Linked DNA regions of Homo sapiens: all the other regions are linked to region 1. The links are contacts of gene promoters, found by promoter capture Hi-C in blood cells and fetal thymus (Javierre and others, 2016). All regions are on one chromosome and are shown on one strand. Each heading gives the region's core, a stretch centred on a gene start or on the middle of the fragment in contact. The rest is flanking DNA. Distances are from core to core; before and after follow the strand shown. Region 1 overlaps UNC79 (unc-79 subunit of NALCN channel complex). Region 2 holds the start of ITPK1 (inositol-tetrakisphosphate 1-kinase). Region 3 holds the start of MOAP1 (modulator of apoptosis 1).

Region 1 (4,994 bases), core at 1,401-3,900:
AACCCAGTGTCATAGTATAATGGGAAGAACAGTAAATGGGGAATTTGGAGACTTGAACTCAAGGTCTGCCCCTACCATTGATAGCTTGTGTGACCTTGAAGAATTTACCTAACCACAGTGGTTCTCAGTTTTGTCCTCTGTAAAATGGGGAAATAAGATTAAATTTGTTTGGCTTTAACAAGATTTGATTTCTAAGTCATGTCTGAAAAGATTAAATTATTTGTAAAAGTAGCAGTGTGCAGGTGTTTTTAACCTCACTAAACATACACTACTAGATGAAAAGAGATCTATTTCATGATTTCTGAGGAAACTAGAAGCCAATAAAAGTAGACGATAATTTATGAGCCAAGTGAAAATCTGTTTGGGCCAAGTCCAGAGGTCATATTACTAAGATTTAAAAGATTCCCCCTTCATGGCTGCCCTTATTTTAAATGGGCTCTAGACCTGGCATGGTGGCTTACACCTGTAATCCTAGCCTTTTGGAGGGAGGTCAAGGCAGGAGGGTTGCTTGTGGCCAGGAGTTGAAGAACAGCCTGAGAAACATAGTAAGACCCCATGTCTACAAAAAAAAAAAAAAAAAATTAGCTGGGCATGGAAGCCCACACCACTGCCTAGCTGCTTAGAAGGCGAGTCAGGAGGATCACTTGAGCCAAGGCGTTCAAGAGGCTGTGGTGGGCTATGATGGTGCCATTGCACTCCAGCCTGATTGACAGAGTGAGCCACTGTCTCAAAAAATAAATTAATTAATTAAATAAAAATTAGAGGGGCTCTCTTTCTTTGTTGATATTTTGTGTGCCTTCCCCTTACAGCTGAAATATCTGCTATATGTCAGAAAAAGGTAAGAGCAAACCATTTGTGTCGTTGGGGCATGATTTATTGTGTTTGTATGTAAATTCATTTATTGACATCTGCCTCATTTCTGCACCGTGGTTTCCAGTATATGCATGCCATTGTATTTGTGGAGGGGTAAAGGAAATAATTTAGCATGCAAGATTGCTACATCCAAATGGTCTCTATTTCCATTTCTGCTTTTGCTCACCCATCTTATGCACAATGCTTTTGTTCAGTAATTTGCAATAAAAGCCTATGTGTAATTCTGGGATAGGAGTCCAATTAGAAAAAGGTTTGAATTATACTGCAATTTATGGTACTTAACTTTAGTTAAGGATATATCTTGTATGCTAGAAATCTCAATTGTTTTGAAGTGGAGTGCAAATAGTCCAATTTGTATGTGTGAAAAACATACCCAGACTGACTGTATATGGAAAGTATTTATGTGTAAGTTGAACAATACATGTAGCTAAAGATTCTTCCTTTAATATTTCCTTTAGTTTTTTTTTAATAATAGTTTCTCTAAACCACCTCCATCTTCTCTTCTTGTTTTAATAATTGAAAAGAGTAAGAGGAGGCAGTATGATGTCATAAAAAAGAATTTTTGACTAGTTGGTTGAGATTCTTGGACTCTGGCCAGTTCTGTTCCCTCCTACCTATGTGGACCTTGCACACATCATTTAAACTTTTTGGGATGTTGATTGTGAGTAGGTATATTGGAGGGCTGTCTCAGTTATCTATGGATGCATAACAAACCATCTGAAAACATAGTGTCTCATATGGCAACCAATTATTTAATCACAATTCTGTGGATTGGCAATTTGTCCTATGCTCAGCTCAGCTAAGCAGTTCTTTTGATAAATTACTCTAGGCTCACTCATGTATTTGCAGTCAGTTGGTGGGTAAGCTGGAATTGGCTGGCCCCAGATGGTCTCACTCCCATATCTGGGGCTAAGCTGGGATGGCTGGAATGGTGAGATGGGTGGGGTGTCTGGGCCTCTCTTTCCACATGATGTCTCATCGTCCAGGGGCTAGGCTGGACTTGTTCACAGGTGGCAGTCTTCTGAGAGAGTGAGAGAGCCTCACTCACTCAAGGCCTCTCAGAAGTCACACAGCATCATTTCTGTAGCATTCAACAGGTCAAAGCAAGTTCCAAGGCCGGCCCAGATTCAAAGAGTGGAGAAATAGGATCTTTGTGGTTATTGAAGGATTGGCAAGAATTTTATGGTCACATTTAATCTACCACAATCTGTCCTTTGGACATAATTATTTACCTTCTTTCCATATGCAAAATATGCTCACCATTTTATATGACCTCCACAAGTCTTATTCATTTATGGCTTCAGGCTTAAAGTCTAGTATCTTGTGATCTGCATGTGATATGTCACTGATTAAACTTCTTGGTAACTGATTCTCTTGATTCAGAGTCCTGTGAACTAAGAAGGAAAGTTATCTTCCCTCTCTGCACCCAAGACACAATGTTGAGACAGGGACAGGATCATAGCAATAAGCTTCTGTTCAAAAAGAGGAAGGGAAAGCAGATAGCAGTCATTGGTCTATAGCAGCTCCAGCCATAAACACATCAACAGTTCCTCTGTCTCCAGGAATAGCATACATGCCTTGATTATGATCTGGTTTTGTTTCCTAGAAATAGTTCCCTAATCTGTTCTTGTCCTCCTGAGCTCTTGGCTCCACTCTCTGAGACATCTTTTCTTTTCAATAAGAAATGGTCCATGTTGCAGCTGAGTAACTTTCTCAATCTGCTTCGTGCATGTAGGAGTTAGGGTCCCATATATCTCTTTTCATTTAGAACTGCGTCTCTTTAGTTTTAGCTGGTGGTGCTTTTGCTAGTATGACTTTCTTAAAAACTTTGTGGATTTTTAGTGAATCTCATTGGGGTCCTGAGCCCCCAAAGCCACATCTATAATGATTTTTGAGGCAGTCCTTCCTATATTTTGGGCGTTTCAGTGTGCCCTTAAAATTATTAGAAGCCCTGTTATAGCTGAGAGCCTCAATTAGACATCGCCTTATAACTTTCTGAAGCCTTAACAAAGGATCTTAGAGTCATAGACCATATTCTTCCTTTGATCTTTATCCTGAGGCCATTCTTACTTTGAGAATCGTTTCTAAGCTTGTGGGACCAGGATTTCAAACAGTTCTATTTTCTAAATCAGCATGTTTTGGCTCTGGGGACATACGTAACATATTTGACACCCAGGGTAGATCATTTTTTAACACTTCCCTCTTTATATGACAAACTTATTTTTAGTAACAAGCTTCAAATTAGCACATTTTTATTGCTTATCCTTTAATAAACATTGTGTTTTACACAGACATTAATTTGGAGAATTTCCATTAAGTTCATAACAGTTCAGAATTGTATGAGCTTGCCCTGGGTAGTTTGTATTCTACCTCTTTGTACTGCATATTCCCTGAATGGTATATTTGAAATAAGCAATGATAGCATCGTGATTGGAAAGATGAAGAGACAGACCTTGATTATTTCAATTCTGTGATTTTGTGAGACCACTTGGAGTTATTTCTATGTGTTTAAAATTCAAAGCAGTGAAGCAAAGTGGTTGGAGTGAACATTTGAAAACATGTCCAGCTGAATCTCCATCTAAGGGAAGCCTCTCTAGTTTAGTTTGGAAATGAATGAGCTGAATCCACATGGGTTGAGGCCTTTCAAATATATTATCAAAACTTAGTAGGAATCCTAGCAATTATTTAGAACTTCGATCAACTGAAGATTATTTTTGGGGAAATGTATTTTATTGCTGACATTGTTTAGAATTGATGGCATGTGGTAATAAAGCAGGTTGACTTTTAGTCGGTATTCCAGATATTATCATATGCAGTGTATCCAGATACTCCATAAGAAATTGCTCAAAATTTACATCGTAAAACAGCAACATTTAGTTATGTTCATAGACTCTGTGGATCAGAGATTCGGACAGGGCATGATGGAGATAGCTTGTCTCTGTTTGATGATGTTTGGGGCTTCATCTGGGAAGACTTGAATGCTGAGGGTTTTAATTATCTAGAGGTTTCTAGATCATACGTTTGGGCTCTGGGATGGGGTGACTTGAAGACTAGGCTAAGCCAGCGCCATTGACTCAAGACTGAAACATGGTCTCTCCCTGTGGCTTGGCTGTCTCATGGCATCCTGGCAGAGATCTGGGAGGAGTATCTAATGAGGAAGTTTCTGAAGAGAGAACATCTCAAGGCAGCAAGTGGAAGCTGCGTGTCCTTTTATAAGCATCATTTCTGTCATGCTATATTGGTTGAAGCAGTTGCAAGCCCATCCAGATTCAAGGGGAGGGAAACTATCCTTGACTTCTTGATGGGAGGAGTGTGGAGAACCCGCCTCTGGTCACAGATTATTTACATTCTTTCCACTTGCAAAATCCTGACTGGAGGTCCAAGATCTTCTCATCAAAATCAAGTTCAGGTGTAGATGAGGCTTTTTGGGCTTGGCTCCTTAAGTATTCTTCCTTTTGCTTTGAATACTTGTGAATGAAAGAAATGTTATCTGCATCCTGCACAGCTAACATGCAATAGTGATACAGGGGTAGGATTACTGCAGTAGAGACTCATGTAAAAAGTGAGGAAATGAGAGGAAGGTAGTCATGTCCGAATCTCTGATCCACAGAGCCTATGAACATAATTAAATGTTGCTGTTTTATGCCGCTAAATTTTGAGTAATTTCTTATGGAGTATCTGGAGTCCTTAGAAATTCTGAAAGTCACAGGGCACATGTCACTTGTTCCTTAGTTAGGTGCGAGTCCTGCTTCCTGGGAGCTGGTCTCTTTGGCTCTAGGCCCCACCCTCTGGGAGATGCCCATCTTTTCCTTCTCATAAAAAGTAGCCTGTCATTTACAGCTAAGTAGTTTTATCAGCCTATTTTTTGCTTATAGAAGTTTGGAAATCCCAAAACATCTTCTTTTTTGGGCTGTCTCTGTCCCTTTCAATCTACAATGGTATAATTCCATTAAAAACATGGGCTCTTATGTCTCAATTTATAAACCTGCTTCATTAAACGTGAGTCAAATGCACAAACCTCTTTGGGATAAGTCCTTCTACACCTTATGCTCTCTATGAGGCTCCTGGGAATGATGACTTACGATTCTTAGAACCCTTATTGTTGAATGAAGTGGATGCTG
Region 2 (4,994 bases), core at 1,378-3,877, 420 kb before region 1:
AAGGTCAAGCCAATCTGCAGGTCCAGCACGAGGACCTAGTTGTGAGTCTCGGCGAAGAATATTTTGCGAGAGCCTCCTAATTACCAAGCAAAACAAGCCAACCCAATGACAAGCCTCAAGCTTGAGTTGCAGACACAAGATGACATAAATACAGACAGCAGTACAAAGGGTGCGAGGTATTCGCTGGGATTTCCCAAGTCTTACATGACTGCAGGGGGAGCTCCGGTGCCTCACATCAGAACTGGACTTCGAGAACATGCCAAAGCAGCTGCTCCAAATTTCTTTAGTGTCTTAGAATGCCCTTCCCACAAGTGAGTGTATCCGCGGTACAACGTTCAAGTACCCTTTTGTAATGTTCCAAGGGTCCTAAGACTCATTTTCAAAGCTCTGGCTTCGAGCTCCTCCTGATTTCTTCATGAATTGCTGGGGCCACTCTGCATGCCCTATTGATCATGAAGAGCCTGTCTTCTAGGGAAACCGGCCTGGGAGAAGGCAGCCAACCCCATCCCCAGACCAAGGGATAAAGAACCAGGCACTATCCTGTACAAGCTGTGCCCCTCTGGCTGCAGGAAGAGCGCCTGCGGGGCTTGCACGGGGCAAAGGAGCAGCAGGCCCTTGGGAAAGGCATGAGGCACACAGAGGTGCTGCCAGGCTCACCTGCGCATGCCAGCTCAGACCAGCCACGGGCCCCCAGGAGCACCAGGGGTTACGGAAACCCAACTGTTCAATTCTCCAAGATGTGTGGGGCCCCCACAGGGACAAAAATGCAAGTAGAGCCCATTTTCAAAAATCAGTCTAACAAGCTGCATCACAAAAGGTTTCCACCTGGAGTTTGCAAAAGGCTTTCAGAGCTAGATTCTCTTAGGCTTGCATTGAGAAAAGGGCTTAACTGCTTCTCAGAGGCAAAGCTACAGTTGTGGAGCAAGGGAAGGCCTACCTGACCCAAGACTCAGTAGTTCTGTAATTTATTAAGAACGTGATCTGTTAAACACCGGAGACTCCGCCAAGGAGCACCAGCATGGTGGGAGCAGGGGCACACAGCCCAGATGGCAGAAGGCCACTCCACACCACGGGCATTTACCCAGCACTTTCTACGCACCAGCCACTCCCTAGCTGCGGGACCCCAAGCTAGGTACCCCGCTCCTCTGCCGATCGGTCCCCGTTCTCAGACAGGTGGCCCAGAATCACCACCCTGGCCAATTTGCAGGGCTGCTGCGAGGCTCTAATGAGACAGCAAATCACCACATACATGCCAAGAATTGCTACTCGCTTCAACTGGGCTTAACCTCATGATATGCAATGACAGCCTCAAGAGCCGAGCACACGCGGGGCACATAGTAGGTGGTCCACAAACGTGGGTGCCCTTTCTTCATGAAAGGGAAGGGGACGAAGGAAGAAAAACACTCCGGTCCAAAAGTACCCTCAAGCCCTTACCCCACAGCGTGGATGCCCCGATTTCCCAGGTCCCTCCGCAACCCTCAGTAGAACTCCCACCGCGCCCTGGGCTGCTGGGGGCCTCCCCAGCCGGGTCACAGTGCACCTGAACGCCCCGGTCCGTGCCACCTCGCCCGCACCGGCCACCGCTTCCCTGGAACGCGGCCGGCGGCCGCCACCGCCACCTGGCTGCTCGGACTCAGTCTCCCCGCGCGCCGCTTCTTCCCGTTTGGCTCCGATCTCCCAAAACAACTAATGAGGCTGCACCGGGCTCGGGCCGGGGGTCACCGGGCTCGGGCCGGGGGTCCCCGGGCGCCGGCGCCGCGTCCCTCCTTACCTGCACAGCTCGGCGAAGGCCTGGAAATTCAGCTTCTTGATTTTCTTCTCGCTCAGCCAGTAGCCAACTCTCTTCCCTTTCAGAAAGGTCTGCATCTTCCTCCTCGGGCGGGGAGCCTGGGTCCGGAGGAAATCGCCCACAGGCCGAGTCTGGCGGCCGGCGCGCGCCGCGAGCGAGTGGGCACCTCCTCCCGGCGGCGGGGACGCGGAACGGGGATCGGAGCTGGGGCGCGCAGTCCTGCCGCGCGGAGCGGAGCGGGGCGGGGCGCGGCGGGCGGCCGGGAGGAGGGAGCGGCGCTCAGCGCGGAAGGCCACTGGCTGGGCCAAGCTGCCACCGCCCACGCCCCCGCCGCCTGCGGGCTCGCCCGCCCGCCCACCGGCTCGCGAGCGCCGCGCCGCCCGGCCTGCCGGCTGAGGCTGGGGCACGGCTGAGCCTGAGTCTGAGTCGGAGCTGGGGCCAGGGCCCGCAGGAGGGGAAGCCGGGCCTCCGCAGACACCGCCCCCGCCCTGCCCGCCCTCCCGCCGCGCGGGCCCGAGCCACACGCCCTCAGGCGGCGGCAGAAGCGCGGCCTCCGAGCCCTTCCTCCCTCCTCCTCCCGCCCGGGTCCTCGCCCTCTGATGTTCCCAGCCGGGCCGTAACCCCTGGGCGCGCTTGGACCCCGGCGGGGCGCACGCGGCCACTCGGCCCGGCCAGAGATCCTCACCCGCCGCCGCCGCCGCCACTTCCTCCTCGGCCTGGTCCTCGCGCGCTGCCCGCCGAGAAGGGCGGCGGCGAGCGCCCGCGCACTCGCCGCCCCTGCCCGCCGCCGCCCCGCGCTGGCCCGGCCGCCCCGCTTGAGCCCGCGGCGGCGAGGAAGCGGCGGGGCGGCCGCCAGGGGGCAGCGCCGCCCGCCGCCTCTTAAAGGCGCCGCGCCGGCCCTCGCGGCTACCCGGCGCCTGTTTGTGTCCCCGGGTGTGGGGTGCGGGGCGCGGGGCTTCCTGGGGGCGGCCGTGGCCCGGCGGTCTTACTTCGGGAAGGGAGCCGCGGTGTGGGCGTGTGTTCCGCCTGGCCTTTGGGGGCGACCGAGCCGCTGAGTTTCGGAAACGTCTCTGTACCCCCAGCAGGGTTCAGCACCCCCAAGGCAATCCATTGCAACTGCGCCCGGAAGGAGACCTTCCAGGAATTCGCCCCTTCCCTCGAGGAAGCGGACCCTGGCCCAGGATGGGGCCCCCCGGGGGGGTGGGTGAACACCCAGGGGCCCTCCTAGGCGTAGGACGTGACCACCAGTTCTCACTCTAGGTCCCCTTCACTGAGGGGGGAAGGGGCGGGGACTGGAGGCGACAGCGACAACAGCGGCCGTCCCCGGAGACCCCTTCCTCAGGGGTGCGGGTCAGCGTCGGCGCCGGGGAGTCACTAAACCCCGCCTACCCTGCCCTGCCCTATGGGGCAGCCAGGGAGCTTTCCTGCCTCAATGGTCTCTGGGTTTGGGAAGGAGAAATGGACTTCTCTCCCCAGGCCCAGGCAGGAAAAATGGATTCCCGTGGAGGGAAGGCTCAGAAAAGTTTGAGAGGAGACACTGAAGCTGGCCTTGGAAATCAAGGAGATTTTGATGGAGCAGGGAAGGGGGATGAGCTTGAATTGAGGCTGGGAGACAAGAAAAAGCCAAGTTGCCAGCGGGTGACCAAGACTTCCCTTGATCACACTTGAGTCAGGCTCCTCCGAGACCTCTTTCTGACCAGGCCCCGACCTTGGGCTCTGTCCTTGGCCTTCTTAGTCCAGTTTTAGCCAGAATCCTGCTGTCAAGAATATCTCCACGCTTGGTATGTGATCACCCTGGCCGGCCTACATTAAGAAACTCCGTCTCAAAAAAAAAAGAAAGACAAGGATCTCTCTATGCTGCCCAGGCTGGAGTGCAATGGTGCAGTCATAGCTCACTGCAGCCTCGAACACCCCTGCTAAACTGATCCTCCCACCTCAGCCTCCCGAGCAGCTGGGACTACACTGTGTTGCCCAGGCAGGTCTCGAACTCCTGGCCTCAAGCTGTCCTCCCACCTGGGCCTCCCAAAGTGCTGGGATTGTAGACCTGAGCCACCCCGCCTGGCTTCCCTGCCATCTTTAACGAGAATCTGATTAGTTTTTTTCTTTAACAAGGTAGAGAAAACGGATGGATGGAGAGTGGAAAAGACGATGGGTGGGAAACAGGACTCCTCCAGGGGGCCAGCTAGGGACGGGCACTGCATGCCTTAGGCAAGGGTACTGCGAGTTTCATAGGCCATGGGAGCCTAGAAGGTAAGTGGTGACAGGTTCCAGGGTCAGCTCTGTGGCTTAGAATGCCTGGCTCCTGGGGGGGACATGGAAAGCTGGATAAAGGGAAGATCATAGCAAGGACCCCTAGGGCCGAGGCACAAGATGGATAAAAGAAGGCTAAGGGAGGCTGCGCATGGTGGCTCATGCCTGTAATCCCAGCACTTTGGGAGGCCGAGGTGGGCACATCATGAGGTCAGGAGATTGAGATCATCCTGGCTAACACGGTGAAACCCTGTCTCTACTAAAAATACAAAAAATTAGCCGGGCGTGGTGGCGGGCGCCTGTAGTCCCAGCTACTTGGGAGGCTAAGGCAGGAGAATGGCGTGAACCTGGGAGGCAGAGCTGGCAGTGAGCTGAGATCGTGCCACTGCACTCTAGCCTGGGCAACAGAGTGAGACTCCGTCTCAAAAAAAAAAAAAAAAAAAGAAGGCGGCTAAGGGAGTAAAAACGAAGGGGATGGGGGCAGCAACTATAAACTTGATACTTGAAGTCAGCAGTAGGGATTACAGGCATCGACTTTAAATGTCCTGCTGTTCTTAGGAACTGAAAGACCAGTTGAGGCTGGGTGGTTCAGGAGGGTTCCTGGAATTCCCTCACTCCTTTGGCAAACACACGAGAGCCCAGTGTGTGGCAGAGGAAAATGGACACAAGCCATTGATTAGAAACACGGGATGAGGCTGGGCGCTGGGAGGCCGAAGCAGGCGGATCACCTGAGATCAGGAGTTCGAGGCCAGCCTGACCAACATGGAGAAACCCCATCTCTACTAAAAATACAAAATTAGGTGGGCATGGTGGCGCATGCCTGTAATCCCAGCTACTTGGGAGGCTGAGGCAGGAGAATCGCTTGAACCAGAGAGGCGGAGGTTGCGGTCAGCCGAGGTCGCGCCATTGCACTCCAGCCTGGGCGGCAAGGGCAAAACTCCATCTCAAAAACAAA
Region 3 (4,994 bases), core at 1,529-4,028, 350 kb before region 1:
TGCAGATTCATGCTTTGGGAACTCTTTATTCAAATGAAATCTCTCTTGGAACCGTGATATAAACAAAACAGACAAAGTCATTTTATTAGCATTCCTTTATTTTAGAAGTTCACACCTATAATTTTATAACAATCGTGAAAATGTTACTCAGAACTAGATGTTTTGATGACACATAGCAGAAATCTGTGGTTCAAGATGGTCATTGCAAACTTAACCAATCTCAGCATTCTATTCTGCCTTTTGTTTTGATTGCACAGAATCAATATAATTCTGATTCATATGGAAAATAACTTAATATCTTAACCTCCGCTCAGGATCTTCATCATAAATGTAGGTCAGTACATACCTAAAAATTGTCAATGATCCAACATGGTCACATGTGACATGCTACACTTGCACCTAGTACCAAACAAGCTGATACTTCAATGAGATCTGGTTGGCATATACACCCAAGCCTTGTCTGTCCCCTCAGAGCACTGCACACAGATAGTGAAAGAACTTGTGTACAATAAGAAATTCACAGGGATGAGGCTGGGCGCAGTGTCTCACGCCTGTAATCCCAGCACTTTCAGAGGCCGAAGCAGGTGGATCACTTGAGGTCAGGAGTTCGAAACTAGCCTGGCCAACATGGTGAAACCCCGTCTCTACTGATAATGCAAAACTTAGCTGGGCGTGGTGGCACATGCCTGTAGTCCCAGCTACTCGGGCAACTGAGGCAGGAGAATAGCTTAAACCTGGAAGGCGGAGGATGCAGTGAGCCAAGATCACGCCACTGCACTCCAGCCTGGGTGACAGAGCGAGACTCTGTCTCAACAACAACAACAAAGATATTCACAAGGATGAATTTAAATAGGTAAATGGCAGTGTAGAACTACATCCTTCCTAGTCAATTACACCTTTAGGAGACTTTAAATAGGCACAGAAACGACAAAGGGCTTATACTGAGAATTGCACAAAAATGAGTTACTTGGCAGCACAAGGTAGGGATTGTATGTGTCACAAGAGTATATAGACTGTTCTACCTTCATGCTCTACTCATTGCCATATCCCTTCGTGGTTCCCTGAGACTCAGGTGAAATTACCTTCCAATATTGCCTGGAGAAGGGCCTCCTCCTCCTCAGCTGCCTCATAATCCTTTATTAGTACCAATAACTGCAAGAAACCAGGGGCTGGGCCATCCTCTGGCAGATTAAGCTCTCTGCGAATTGTTTTGTGGACTGCCCCAGCAATGACTTGGTCTAGGCGGGCCTGATTCACAGCATCTCTCTCAATTGCTCCTCTCTGTACCAGCTTCTGTAACAAAGGCTCCAGCCTTAGTACATAAGCCGACAACTTTTCCTCATCCTTCTGGTAAGTGGTTAGATATTTGACCTGCAACTCCCTAGGATTATCTGTAACCCCAAATACCTCCTCAAGAGCCTGCAGACATTCATCGACAGTAATTAAAGGATTGTTTATCTTGAGGACACGAATAACATCAAGTGCTGGGCCTCGAAGGCTCTCTAGCAATCGCCTTCTCTTCTCTACATCTGGCACCTGCCACGCCTTTATCATCTGAGTAGTATGAAACATCCAGCGTCCAAATTCTTCTTCTCCTGGTTCTGGAGACTCCCTGCCCGAGAACACTCTCAGCTTTTTATACTTCAAGCATTGCAGGGCAGGCTGAAGAGCCTCTAATGCCTGTGCCAACATAGGGGCCCACATTTCCGGGATCATGCCCTGCTCTGGGTCTAAGGAGCCATTTTCATGTCCAAGAGCTCTGCTCAACTCACCCACTGTCATGCCCTCTCCCGCTAAAAATTCATTTAATCTGCTTAAAAATGTATTATCTGGGTCAGGGGGCTTAAAGATCACTCTCCAGATACCCCCTTTTCCCGGTATCTCCTTAGGGACCAGGGCGTGACTAGTCTCCGCAGTAAGCCCTACTAAGGCTACTTTCCTGTTCTCATCCCTCCTGAACATCCTTCCAAGCAGTCTGTACTCCCCCAAGGGAGCTAAACCAGCCTGCAGAGCCTCCTCGATTTCTGCCACACTGCAGCTCTGGGAGATGCCGGCAATCAATAGCGCTTTCCGAGGGTTCATGTCCATCCCCCTGCACCAGTCTTCTAAAAGCCTCAAAGTCATGGTGCCCGAAATAATAGACTTAAGTTCTAAATATGCCAGACCACAGGCGACCACCGAAATTCAAAGTAATCCTCCGCGGTACCCCAGAGAAATCTTGTCAACGTGCCGAGGTCCAGCAGCCTGCAAGACAGAGCAGACAGGTTAGCTAAAGGTGCCAACGTCCAGGGCAAGCGTGCAGGCCCCAAGCCCCGCGCGCCCTGCCCCCAGCGGCGACGCCAGGGCAGCCGCACTGCGGCGCGCGCCCCTCACCCCTCCCAGCCCTGGTGCCTGGCGGATGTCGGGCCTGCAGGGCCGCGTCGGGCCCGCTTCCACTCACCGTGATCTAGTGCTCGTGCCCGCGTCCGTGCGCCGGCGGCCAAGGTGCCTGGCCGGGCCCCGACGAGGCGCGGGAGGGCAGGCTCCCCTAGGCTCTGACGGACACTCGGGGGCCACAGCGACCGATGCCGGTACTCCAGGTGCCTGTGGTACTGTCTGCAACGAGAAGTGATGGGGCGATGACAGTCGCGAGCGGGCACCAGGGGGCAAGGCTGAGGAGCGCTGAGTCGCCAGACCCAGAGAGCCACCCACCTGGAGGGACGTGCCGCCACCCGCGCCGCCGGAGCTCCGGCTCCAGCCCGGATTCCACCTGTTTTGGTCTCGCTCGGGGAAGCTGCGCGGCGGGCGGGGGCGATCTGACGTCATGAGGGGCGGGCCTCGGGGGCGGGGCGCGCGCGCTTCCGGCCCGAGCCGGAAGCTCCGACTGCGGCGGCATCCGGGACGGCGGGCGGGCTGGCCACCACGGGACAGGAAGGTGAGATCCGGGACCTCAGCTTTGCAAGCAGGCTCCGCCGGCGACCGCTGACGGGCGCTGGGCTCGCGGCGCTGCAAGGCGGCGAGGCCCGGGCCTGGCGCCGCCTGCGCAGCCTTGGTCGCGGCGTGCCGGCGCTGCAGCGCGGCAGGGGGCGGGGCCGGCCGCCCGGAGGCCCAAGTGGCGGGGACGCCTCCCTGCCGGGTCAGGTTCTCAGAGCGGGTCTCCGGCGGCGGCGACGGGGGCCGGGCCGCGCGTGACCCGCCGCAGTCACGCCGTTCTTAATCACTAGTAGCTGGTGCTCCAGGCTGGCGGCGCTCACCTTTCTCCTAGCCGGGTGACCCAGGGGATTTATTTTATGTTGGCTTTCTCTGAAATGCCAAAGCCACCCGATTATTCAGAGCTGAGTGACTCTTTAACGCTTGCCGTGGGAACAGGAAGATTTTCGGGACCATTGTAAGTGCTTAGGAGTTACTGTCTTAACTTGGGGGCTTGACTTGTAGCACCCCGCGTTCACGTCTGAAGCAGTACTGTTATGCCAGAAAGTGTTTCACCTGTCAAAGTGAAATGTGCTGTGAGAAACTAGTTTAATTCCAGTTTCTGGAGGGCGGGTATTATGGACCTGTTTAAGTAGGATGCAGTGATTTATTCTGAGGGATTCCCGTTAAAAAGCAGAACTCAGTATATACTGAAATCAATGGTTTTTTGTTTTTTTGTGTGTGTTGTTTTACTTGATTGTAAGTATTACACAAAACAACCTGTAAGTTTTACATTTCTTAATAGGTGTTTAATTTAATTATTTTAAATCTTAAGTGTGTTAGTGGGATATTTTAGAATTCTTTTTTTTTTTTTTTAATTAGACAGAGTCTCGCTCTGTCGCCCAGGCTGGAGTGCAGTGGCGTGATCTCGGCTCTCTGCAAGCTCTGCCTCCTGGGTTCACGCCATTCTCCTGCCTCAGCCTCCCGAGTAGCTGGGACTACAGGTGCCCGCCACCACGCCCGGCTATTTTTTTTGTATTTTTAGTAGAGACGGGATTTCACCATGTTAGCCAGGATGGTCTCTATCACCTGACCTCGTGATCCACCCGCCTCAGCCTCCCAAAGTGCTGGGATTACAGGCGCGAGCCACCGCGCCCGGCCTAGAATTCTTGGAGATAAAGCAAGTACATTTGGAGTAGTTGCCGTGACAGCATTACTAGACCCTAATTGTATTTTCTTTTTTAATTTGAAGGCACAGAGCATGGAGAATGATGAACTTCCGTCAGCGGATGGGATGGATTGGAGTGGGATTGTATCTGTTAGCCAGTGCAGCAGCATTTTACTATGTTTTTGAAATCAGTGAGACTTACAACAGGCTGGCCTTGGAACACATTCAACAGCACCCTGAGGAGCCCCTTGAAGGAACCACATGGACACACTCCTTGAAAGCTCAATTACTCTCCTTGCCTTTTTGGGTGTGGACAGTTATTTTTCTGGTACCTTACTTACAGATGTTTTTGTTCCTATACTCTTGTACAAGAGCTGATCCCAAAACAGTGGGCTACTGTATCATCCCTATATGCTTGGCAGTTATTTGCAATCGCCACCAGGCATTTGTCAAGGCTTCTAATCAGATCAGCAGACTACAACTGATTGACACGTAAAATCAGTCACCGTTTTTTCCCTACGATTACAAAACTGCCAGTCCTATATGGAGTCTGATCACAAGACTGCAGTTTCTTCACAGATCTCAGGAAGTTGTCGTGGGGCAGAGGCTTTTTAAAAACATGTGATTAGGGAGCTATCTTTATCTGAATAATAACGAATTTTTAGGTAAAACCTGAGATAGAGTACTACAAAATCATGTTGATGACTTCAGATTTTGGAAGTTAAATCATGTCTGTTATTTGCATTCTTTAGAAACTTGACTAAGTACCTGAATTCATATTTCTATTCTACTGTGCAACATAGTGATGATTCAGAAATTTTTCCTTTGGGGAAAAAAATGAATATGAACATTTCCATTGTGTTAAGTGTAAAAAGGTCCAGACATGATCATAAAATTTAAATTTTATACAATTACTTGGCTTGCTTTAAAATTCTTC

What was found. The method cuts DNA at HindIII sites, captures the fragments that hold promoters and counts their contacts. A CHiCAGO score of 5 or more calls a contact.
Region 2: a contact is called between the fragment with the promoter of ITPK1 here and a fragment that was not itself captured in region 1, in 2 of 17 cell types (M2 macrophages and M0 macrophages). The highest score is 5.3, in M2 macrophages.
Region 3: a contact is called between the fragment with the promoter of MOAP1 here and a fragment that was not itself captured in region 1, in 4 of 17 cell types (M2 macrophages, M0 macrophages, M1 macrophages and 1 more). The highest score is 9.4, in M2 macrophages.

The regions. Positions count from the first base shown.
Region 1 is chr14:93,531,741-93,536,734 of GRCh38, forward strand. It overlaps UNC79 (unc-79 subunit of NALCN channel complex), which reads left to right. Exons shown (of 52, transcript NM_001395159.1): 11 at 810-838. Among named protein-coding and RNA genes, the nearest start is that of UNC79, 100 kb to the left of the region's middle. The HindIII fragment of the contact is 620 bases long and covers 2,341-2,960 here.
Region 2 is chr14:93,113,298-93,118,291 of GRCh38, forward strand. It overlaps ITPK1 (inositol-tetrakisphosphate 1-kinase), which reads right to left and starts at 2,628. Exons shown (of 11, transcript NM_014216.6): 1 at 2,475-2,628; 2 at 1,772-2,008. The coding sequence starts at 1,866. The HindIII fragment of the contact is 12,611 bases long and covers 119-4,994 here.
Region 3 is chr14:93,182,119-93,187,112 of GRCh38, forward strand. It overlaps MOAP1 (modulator of apoptosis 1), which reads right to left and starts at 2,779. Exons shown (of 3, transcript NM_022151.5): 1 at 2,692-2,779; 2 at 2,441-2,595; 3 at 81-2,244. The coding sequence starts at 2,124. The coding sequence ends at 1,069. LYSET (lysosomal enzyme trafficking factor) reads left to right here and starts at 3,199. Exons shown (of 2, transcript NM_001098621.4): 1 at 3,199-3,367; 2 at 4,142-4,994. The coding sequence starts at 3,288. The coding sequence ends at 4,553. The HindIII fragment of the contact is 7,901 bases long and covers 1-4,994 here.